Regions from separate parts of the Homo sapiens genome. Here region 2 is linked to region 1. The links are contacts of gene promoters, found by promoter capture Hi-C in blood cells and fetal thymus (Javierre and others, 2016). All regions are on one chromosome and are shown on one strand. The core of a region is centred on a gene start or on the middle of the fragment in contact, and the rest is flanking DNA. Distances in the headings are between cores, read along the strand shown. Region 1 holds the start of IGFBPL1 (insulin like growth factor binding protein like 1). Region 2 has its middle 57 kb from the start of SHB.

Region 1 (4,160 bases), core at 1,154-3,653:
CTTAAACTCCTTCTTTGACAAGGACCTCACTATCTCTGGAGCAGCCTGATCTCTCTTTGGACAACTATGAACCATTAGAAAGTCTGAACTTACCAGCAAAGTTGTCCCTGAAAAGCAGCATGGAGTTCGCTTATCTCTTTTGTTTGCAAATCCTGCTTTGTTCATTTAACATTATAAGTGTTTCCTTCTCATAGTGAGACCCCATCTCTGAAAAAAAAAAATTGTTTAAATTAGCCAGGCGTGGTGGTGCTCACCTATAGTCCTAGATACTCAGGAGGCTGAGTGGGGGAGGACGGCTTGAGGCTCAGGAGTTTGAGGCTGCAGTGAGCTATGATCATGACATTGCACTCCAACCTGGGCAGCAGAATGAGGTACCATCTCTTTTTTTTTTTTTTTTTAAAAAAAGGGTTTCCTTCACATCATTAAAAACAATCTTAAATTTTTGCATGTTTACACATTCACATATTTACAAATATGCCATTACATTAGATGTGCACTTTTTAACCGCTATTTTACTAAACAATGTATTATAAACATGTTTTCATTTCTATTAACCCATATTTTCTTTCTAATTGTTAATGCCTGCATAATCCTCTATTGTTAGATGTACCATAATTTATTTAACGATTGCCTCTCGGTGGGCATTTAGGTCGTTAACTTTTTTTATTTTTATTTTATTTATTTATTTATTTTTTGCTATAGTAACCAACTCCAGGATGAAATCTTCACACATAGTGATCATTTTTTTAGGAGAGATTCCTGGAAGAGCACAGAGGGGTCAAGCGGTGAGAGCACTTTAAAAGGCCACTCCTGGTAAAGACAGCAGCCTCCAGGTTGAAAGTCACTGTTGATAGGTTCTGAGAGCTGCGCTGAGTGCATTACCAACATTGTTATATTTATTCCTTACCACCACCCCTTCATGGTGCCTAACCGCCCCTGCTCTGTGTGGCTGATTGTAAGGTAAGGCCTGGCGTGGACCAGGCAGATGGCCCTCCTCTGACCACCACATAAAGTGGCCTCAGAAGAGGCTCCTTTCTGGGGATAAGAAGACTGCAAACTGGGAAGGAACTGGGCTTGAAAAGCAAAATGAACCCCACCCAAGAACGGTGTAGCTGGTCTTCCCAGGCTGCAAGAGGCTTTCTCCATCTCCAGGAGTTCAGCAAAGAAAAAACAATAGAGCACAAGACACATGAGGGGTGGCCAGTAAAGGCAGGAAAAGTCTCCTATAAAACCTGCTCAGCGAGTCCCTCCCTCCATCCAGTGCATTTACCCAGCAACACATCAAATCCCAGCAGCCAAGACTCTCTTAGGTTTCTCGTCTGGGTGCCCTGCCAGAACTCAGGCAGGATGGTGTGCACAGAGCCTGGCCCAGAGAAGGCGCAACGGCGGCATGAATAACTGACTACAAGAAACTGCATCTTTCCAACATGCATTCCCCAGTAAGCCACAGGTACACTGACCCTTGTGCACCAAGACTTCATCAAAGCATTATTCGTATTAACCAAAGGATGGAAAATAAGTGGTTAAATAACTGCAACTAAACCCTGTGGAAAGGCCACTCTGTATGAACTCCAAAATATATCACCATATCTCATCACAACAAAGTCACTGTGGACGGAGATGTACCATGACTTTATGCAGCATTAAGAAACACACTCACAGAGCCAATGAACTATGCTCCCATTGATTGTATAAGAAACCCAGTTTCACAGATGACAAGAGGTGGGGAAACTGTGAAACACTGTAAGTGCAAAAACCAAGTGCAGACTAATGTGTATGGCACGCTACTCTGTGTGTGTGAGAGAGAAACAGAGTGTGTGTGTTTTAAAGGAAGGGGCTTTTTTAGGCACATGTACTTTTATAGGCATAGAGAAAATTTCTGAAAAGATATACAAAAACCCGATAGCAAGAGTGGCCTCTGGAAGCCGAGTTGGAGGATGGGGATACAAGGTGGTAGGGTAACCCTCTTTTCATCCTTAGATGTATATGTAAAATCTACATTTTAAACCATATATTCTCTTTATAAAATAAAACTTTGAAAACTACTGAATGCAAAATAAAATTAAATAAAATAGCGCATCCTTCTGGGAGGATTTACGGGCATACTATCTGGAGCCAGCCTTGGATCCGGAGACCGTACGGTTATCCAATCCTGACTCTGCCATAGCGACCTCGGGCAAGTTGTCGCCCCGACTGGGTCTCGGTTCCCTCAAGAGTCCAATCGGAGGTCGGAGAGCTGCTCTCGGGGCGACCCTCCAGCTCGGAGACCCGGGCCGCGGGCACCGCGCGGGTCCCGGGCTGGAGCAGCGGTCTGCGGGCGCCCCGCGGTGCAGGCCCGGCCAATCAGCGGCCGCGGGGCGGGAGCGGTGACTGCTCGGCGGGCGCGGAGCGGAGCGCGAAGCAGAGGCGCCGCCGCTGTCCCGGAGCAAGCCATGCCGCGCTTGTCTCTGCTCTTGCCGCTGCTGCTTCTGCTGCTGCTGCCGCTGCTGCCGCCGCTGTCCCCGAGCCTTGGGATCCGCGACGTGGGCGGCCGGCGCCCCAAGTGTGGTCCGTGCCGGCCAGAGGGCTGCCCGGCGCCTGCGCCCTGCCCGGCGCCCGGGATCTCGGCGCTCGACGAGTGCGGCTGCTGCGCCCGCTGCCTGGGAGCCGAGGGCGCGAGCTGCGGGGGCCGCGCCGGCGGGCGCTGTGGCCCCGGCCTGGTATGCGCGAGCCAGGCCGCTGGGGCAGCGCCCGAGGGCACCGGGCTCTGCGTGTGCGCGCAGCGCGGCACCGTCTGCGGCTCCGACGGTCGCTCGTACCCCAGCGTCTGCGCGCTGCGCCTGCGCGCTCGGCACACGCCCCGCGCGCACCCCGGTCACCTGCACAAGGCGCGCGACGGCCCTTGCGAGTTCGGTGAGTCAGGGTCGGGGATTGGGTGGGTAGAGAAGGAGGGATTCCAACCCTCTGGGGTGTGGAGCGAAGGATCCCCCTGCCCAGTGGTGGACGGCGCTGCCTGGCACTCAGTTTCCCCTTAGGGAGCAGTATTTCATATCTCTCCTCGTGCTCAGAGAGACTGGGGCGAGAATCCTTGGAGACGCCACTCACTGTGCTAGTCGAATTTTTGGTGAGCCTGCTACCCCTTTTGGTACTTAAGTACCTGCTGATGCAGTCACTTATTTGTAGGCATGGTATGTTTGCCCAGCAGGAGACTGGGAGTTAAGGAGGGGGATCCGAGTTCCCAGGTATCCAGCGCTAGGTGGATTGTTTGAATGGGGAGGAAGGGAAGTTGAGGTTGGGGGAGGAAGGGAAGTAGAGGATAGGGGAGGAAGGGAAGTTGAGGATGCAGGAGGAGGATGAGTTCCAGACTGGGGAATCAGTAGTCACCAGGCCACAGCACCAGAGCACCAGGGCCCCCGGTGTGGGAAGGGGCTGAGCTGGGATGCTGAGGGAGCTCCATCCAGGAGAAGTAAGACCTTTGGAGACGTAAGGTCTGAAAAGATTGTGGTGCTATTAGGGGCAGACTCAGGTTTCGTGCTTCTAAAACATATATAATTTGGAGAGTCCTGCCTTAAGTAAAGGAATAGAACTGCTAGGGACTTAGAAACTTATTATGAAATGCTAGGGACTTAGAAACTTAAGCTTCATTAACATCACAGTAAAATAATCTCTGAGTGCTATAGTTGCCCACCCTCTTTATGTACCTTTTGAAAACCAAACAAAAAGAAACCAAAACGTTAGCACTGCTTTACCGGCTTCCTAAGCATGAGTGTATTCCACCCACTAGGTTTTGAAGTGCCGCTGTGTACTTTGCCTGGAGTGGGCAGTGCTGAGTTTAGGGTGAGTGAGAAGGTGGCCAGTGAGTCCCAAGGAGCCTGGGTTTCGGCCTGGAGTTCAGGCTTCTGGGAAATAATTCTGGCCTGAGCCCAGAGACCAAGTCCAGACTTTAGTGCCTAAGTCAGTGTAATGACTTAGCTTCAAGAAAGAAGCCTGGGGTGGGGTGAGACCTTTCCAAGCCTTAAGAAGTATCTAGTAGTCTTTCCTCTCAAGTAGTTCAGGTAGATGTACCCAAGTCCAGGAGACGCAATGGGTTGTTGGAGATGGGGCAGGAAGCCTCCAGTCCTGGGAAATGTAAAACCAGTGTGTGGCCAGTTGAGCACAGGAAAGTCACCATTGGCTGTTCC
Region 2 (4,229 bases), core at 1,631-4,130, 300 kb after region 1:
GTCTCCTTCGGTGGACAATGCCTCTCTGACCACATCCTTGATGGCTGACATGATCCCAAAGTAGTGGTTAGGGATGAGCATCCAAGAAGGGATGGAACCCTTTATCTTTAGGTCCCATGGGCTCAGTCAGTCAGGAATTTCAAAGCTAGGAGAACTTTAGGGACCAGCTGACCCAAGCTCTGGAGTAAAAACCTCCTCAAGACCCCCAGCCAGGCAGCACCAGACCCCAGACCAGGGCCAGATGTTCCTGCCCCTCAGCACTGTTCTCAGAGCCCCACCTCATACTCCCATAGCTGCTGCAACCCACGCATTACCTGGAAAGCTGAAGCCCCAGGCTCCAGTGATGAAGCCTCAGGCCACGTCATCCTATGGGCCCCACAGAACCCAGAGCTGGCAACAGCTGCACTTGCCTTTGAAGGATTTCCCAGGGGCCCTGTGGAGGAAGGAGGCAGGCAGTTGTAGAGAGGGCTCTGTTATTGTAGTCTCCCTCGTCTCTGCTTCCCATCTCTCTCACGCACTGTCTGGTGGTCTCTTTCTGACTCTCTTTTGATCTCTTTGTTGGGCTTTGATCATTTTTCATCTCTATCTCTTTCTGGCCGTGTGTCTTTCTTTGTCCCTATCTCATTCTCTCTTTCTCTCCTCCTTCTCTCCTTTTTTTTCCTTTCTCCCCTCCCCCTCTCTCCCCTCCCTCATTCCCTCCATCAGTGATTTTGCTCTTGGAATTTCAAAGATAAGTGCCAATTTCAAGGTCATATTAATCCAGCTCTAGGGAAATCCCTATTCGTGAAGGAAAACATCCAGGAATTACAACAGTACTCATAAAACCCCACAGCCTGGTGAAGATGGACGGGCCCAGGCAATGAAAGCCCTGAGTTTCTTTCCCAGCGCTGCCCTGATTTGCTGGGTGGTCTTGGGAAGCCTTCTTGGGGCTTCAGCTTCTGCATCTATAAAACGAGTGGGCTGGAACACATTGATCTCAAGCGCCAGCTCCAGCTCTCTAGAACTGGAAGGATGCAGGTGCTCAGGCTCCGCAGCTCAGCCGGTGGGAATCCTATCTGTGGGCACCATCGACCACTGGCTTTTGTGGGCACTTGCTGGGGATTTTGCCAAAGGTCCCTGTGCCAGCAGGTGTCTGTGTGCTCAATGACTAGCATCTTGCACTAATCCTTGCTTCTTCCTGTTCCTTTGTTTAAATGTGGAACATACGTTGGGCTTGGCAGCAGATGAACCCAGCTGCCCTTCAAGAGGATCTATCTATGGTGGGTAGATTAAAGGAGGCCTCTCAAGTAGCCCAGCTGGGGAGGGAGACAAAAGCCAGAAGTCCATAAAGAAGCCATTCCCTTAGTCACCAAATGTATACTGAGCAGCACCGATGTGCTGACCACCTGGCCACATCAGACACTGCCCCCACCTTTATCATGAGATGAAGAAGAAAGAAAATGATCCTTCTCCGCAGAGTGAATAACATTCTGCAGGAATGTACAAGTAACAGCATTTTTATTTGAATGAAGAGATCAAGGGAAGCTTCCCAAGAAAGTAACAGCTGATCTGAGGCCCAGTGGGTGACATCACAGAATGTCACTGGACACAGAAGTGAGAGGAGGGCACACTCCATGCACAGGGATGGAATCAGCAAAGGAATCGGGGGCCCATCTCTTCAGGAGCAGATGAGTACAGCAGTTAGGTTGAGACCAGACTGTAGAGGGGTGTGGGATGTTTGAAAAGGAGGGTAAGGAGATAACCTTGATCCTGGGGCTTTAGAGAGCCACCGAAGTTTTTTCAGCAGGGGAGTGACAAGCTCAGATTTAAGCTTTAGAAAGATCCCATGGGTTGTTGTCAGTGTGGGGCTGAGATGGAATAGGAGAGACAGGAGGCAGAGACTGTCTGCAAGACCAAGAGAACACAGAGGCAGAAGCTATGCCAACTATCAGAACACATTTGTACATCAACGCACACACCCTAGGCTATAAGGTAGGGGAAGAAGCCAAGCGGAGTGAGTCAGAGATAGGAAATGAGGTCTGAGAAGGACTCGGCAAAAGAGAAACTCACCTTAGAAGACAAATCTGTCAAGGTAGGAAGAGAGCGAAAAGGGACTTCTCAGAAGCCCCATGAATGAGCCTCGTAATTGGAAGAGACCACAAGTGATAAATCGCCACACATCAGAGGAGGCAGGGGCCTTCAAGACTGAGAAATTCTTCATCTCCACTGTGCGGGTGGGGAAATCAAGGTCCAAAAACCATAAAGGACTTGCTGGATCCCCTGGCAAGCCTAGTCTACAATCAGGAGCTCCCACCTCCAAATTCTACAGTTCGCTCCCTCTCCCACATTTTGCCAGGTTAGTGTGTGGCCCCAACTTGCCAGGAAAAAGAATCAGAGCTGTAGAAAACACAGGAAGGTGCCTGGACTCCTAGCTCCTGTGAGAGCCAAATCTAAAGGCCAGAGATCAGAGGTAGGTGGGCCACGGTGGTATCAGGGGCTGTTCCGCCACTCAGAGTCCAGTGAGCACACAGCTAGGACAGGGGCCCTGATGGTGGAAAGAAAAGAGGGAGAAGGGGATATTTTGAAACAAAAGTTAGCAGGATCAGGTGACTGGGGCTCCAGGGTGAAAGAAAGCAAGAGCCTGGGCATGGACAAGCTCTGGCGATGTGGGACACACGTGGGATGATATTATCGTAAATGAACAAGGCCTGGTAGGAGGTGACCCCAAAGTGAGGGCACTAGCAGGATGAAGGGGGCAAAAGACAGAAGGATCTAGCCTGGAGTGAAATTATGAGCTTGGCTTGGACAGGCTGAGTTTGAAGTGATAGTGGGGCACCGATGGTGAATATCTTTGAGCCCTTACTCTATCACGTATCATGGGCACAGGGTATTTATGATATCTCCTTTAGCCTCCCAAGAGCTCCTTTGGAAGACATTATTCTTACCCCTACTGGACAGATGAGGAAACAAAGGAACAGAGCTATAAATAAATTTGTCCAAGGTTCCCAGCTTGCAAATTTCCAAGCCAGGCTGCAAACCCAGGTCGGTCTCACTGTGTTGCCTTCCATCACTAAGGAGCGAAAGAGAGGAGGTCATTGAAGAAGTCAAACCAGGTGAACACTGGAAAGTAGAGAGGAGAGAGAGAAAAGTGAGAGTACGGCAAACCCTGAGCAAGATGAAGAGTCCAGAGTGGAGTCACAGAGGGGCAGAGAGAGGTGGAGGGAGAATCAATAGAGTCTTTGTTACAGGAGCCGAAGTTGGAGAAAGTGTTCAAGCCAATGTCAAGGTGAGTCTTGAAGTCAATCCAAAGTGTCTTATGTGGTGAAGATGTAGTGATCACCATGAAACACAGAAGAACCTTGGGTAATGAGGAATCCCAGTGTTTCAGGGGCCCAGGCTGCCTGGAAGACTTAGAAGGGGCAGTTAGAGTGCAGAAGACAGTCTGGTTGGGGCAAGGTTAAAACAACCAATTCCGGCCAGGCGCAGTGGCTCACGCCTGTAATCTCAGCACTCTGGGGGGCCAAGGCAGGTGGATCACTTGAGGTCAGGAGTTCAAGACCAGCCTGGCCAATATGGTGAAACCCCATCTCTACTGAAAATACAAAAATTAGCCATGCACACCTAATGGGAGCTACTTGGGAGGCTGAGGCACGAGAATTGCTTGAACCCGGGAGGTGAAGGTTGCAGTGAGCCCAGATCATACCACTGCACTCCAGCCTGGGCGACAGAGCAAGACTCCATGTCGAAAAAAAAAAAAAAGAAAAAAGGAAAAAAAAGAAAGAAAAATCAATCCTGTGAGGACGTATCAGGAAACACACCCTGGAAAGAAAAACAGACAAACTGGACTTCAGCAAACTTAAAAATGTTTGTGCTTCAAAGGACACTATCAAGAAAGTTAAAAAGCCATGAAATGGGGGAAAAATGTTTTGCAAATCAGGTCTACAGTGGTTCATAATATTTAAGAAGCTTTAAAAACTAAACAATAAAAAACAAATACCCCAGTTACAAAGTGGACAAAGGATGTGAAGAAATAGACATTTCTCCAAAGAAGATATATAAATTGCCAATAAGCACATAAAAATTACTCAATGTTATTAGTCATTAGAAAACTGCAGGCTGGGTACAGTGGCTCATGTCTGCAATCCCAGCACTTTGGGAGGCCAAGGCAGGAGGATCTCTTGAGCTCAGGAGTTCAAGACCAGCCTGGGCAGCATAGTGAAACCCTGTCTTTACAAAAAAAATTTTTTAAT

Evidence for each region. Contacts are between HindIII fragments. The CHiCAGO score rates a contact against its expected background, and 5 or more counts as called.
Region 2: a contact is called between a fragment that was not itself captured here and the fragment with the promoter of IGFBPL1 in region 1, in 2 of 17 cell types (total CD8 T cells and naive CD8 T cells). The highest score is 5.9, in total CD8 T cells.

What each region holds. Positions count from the first base shown.
Region 1 is chr9:38,422,697-38,426,856 of GRCh38, reverse strand. IGFBPL1 (insulin like growth factor binding protein like 1) reads left to right here and starts at 2,403. Exons shown (of 5, transcript NM_001007563.3): 1 at 2,403-2,892. The coding sequence starts at 2,433. It overlaps LOC105376041 (a long non-coding RNA gene), which reads right to left and starts at 2,246. Exons shown (of 8, transcript XR_007061487.1): 1 at 2,107-2,246; 2 at 94-207. RefSeq lists an enhancer at 1-1,358. The HindIII fragment of the contact is 4,043 bases long and covers 1-3,620 here.
Region 2 is chr9:38,123,829-38,128,057 of GRCh38, reverse strand. No RefSeq gene overlaps it. Among named protein-coding and RNA genes, the nearest start is that of SHB, 57 kb to the right of the region's middle. The HindIII fragment of the contact is 2,135 bases long and covers 1,813-3,947 here.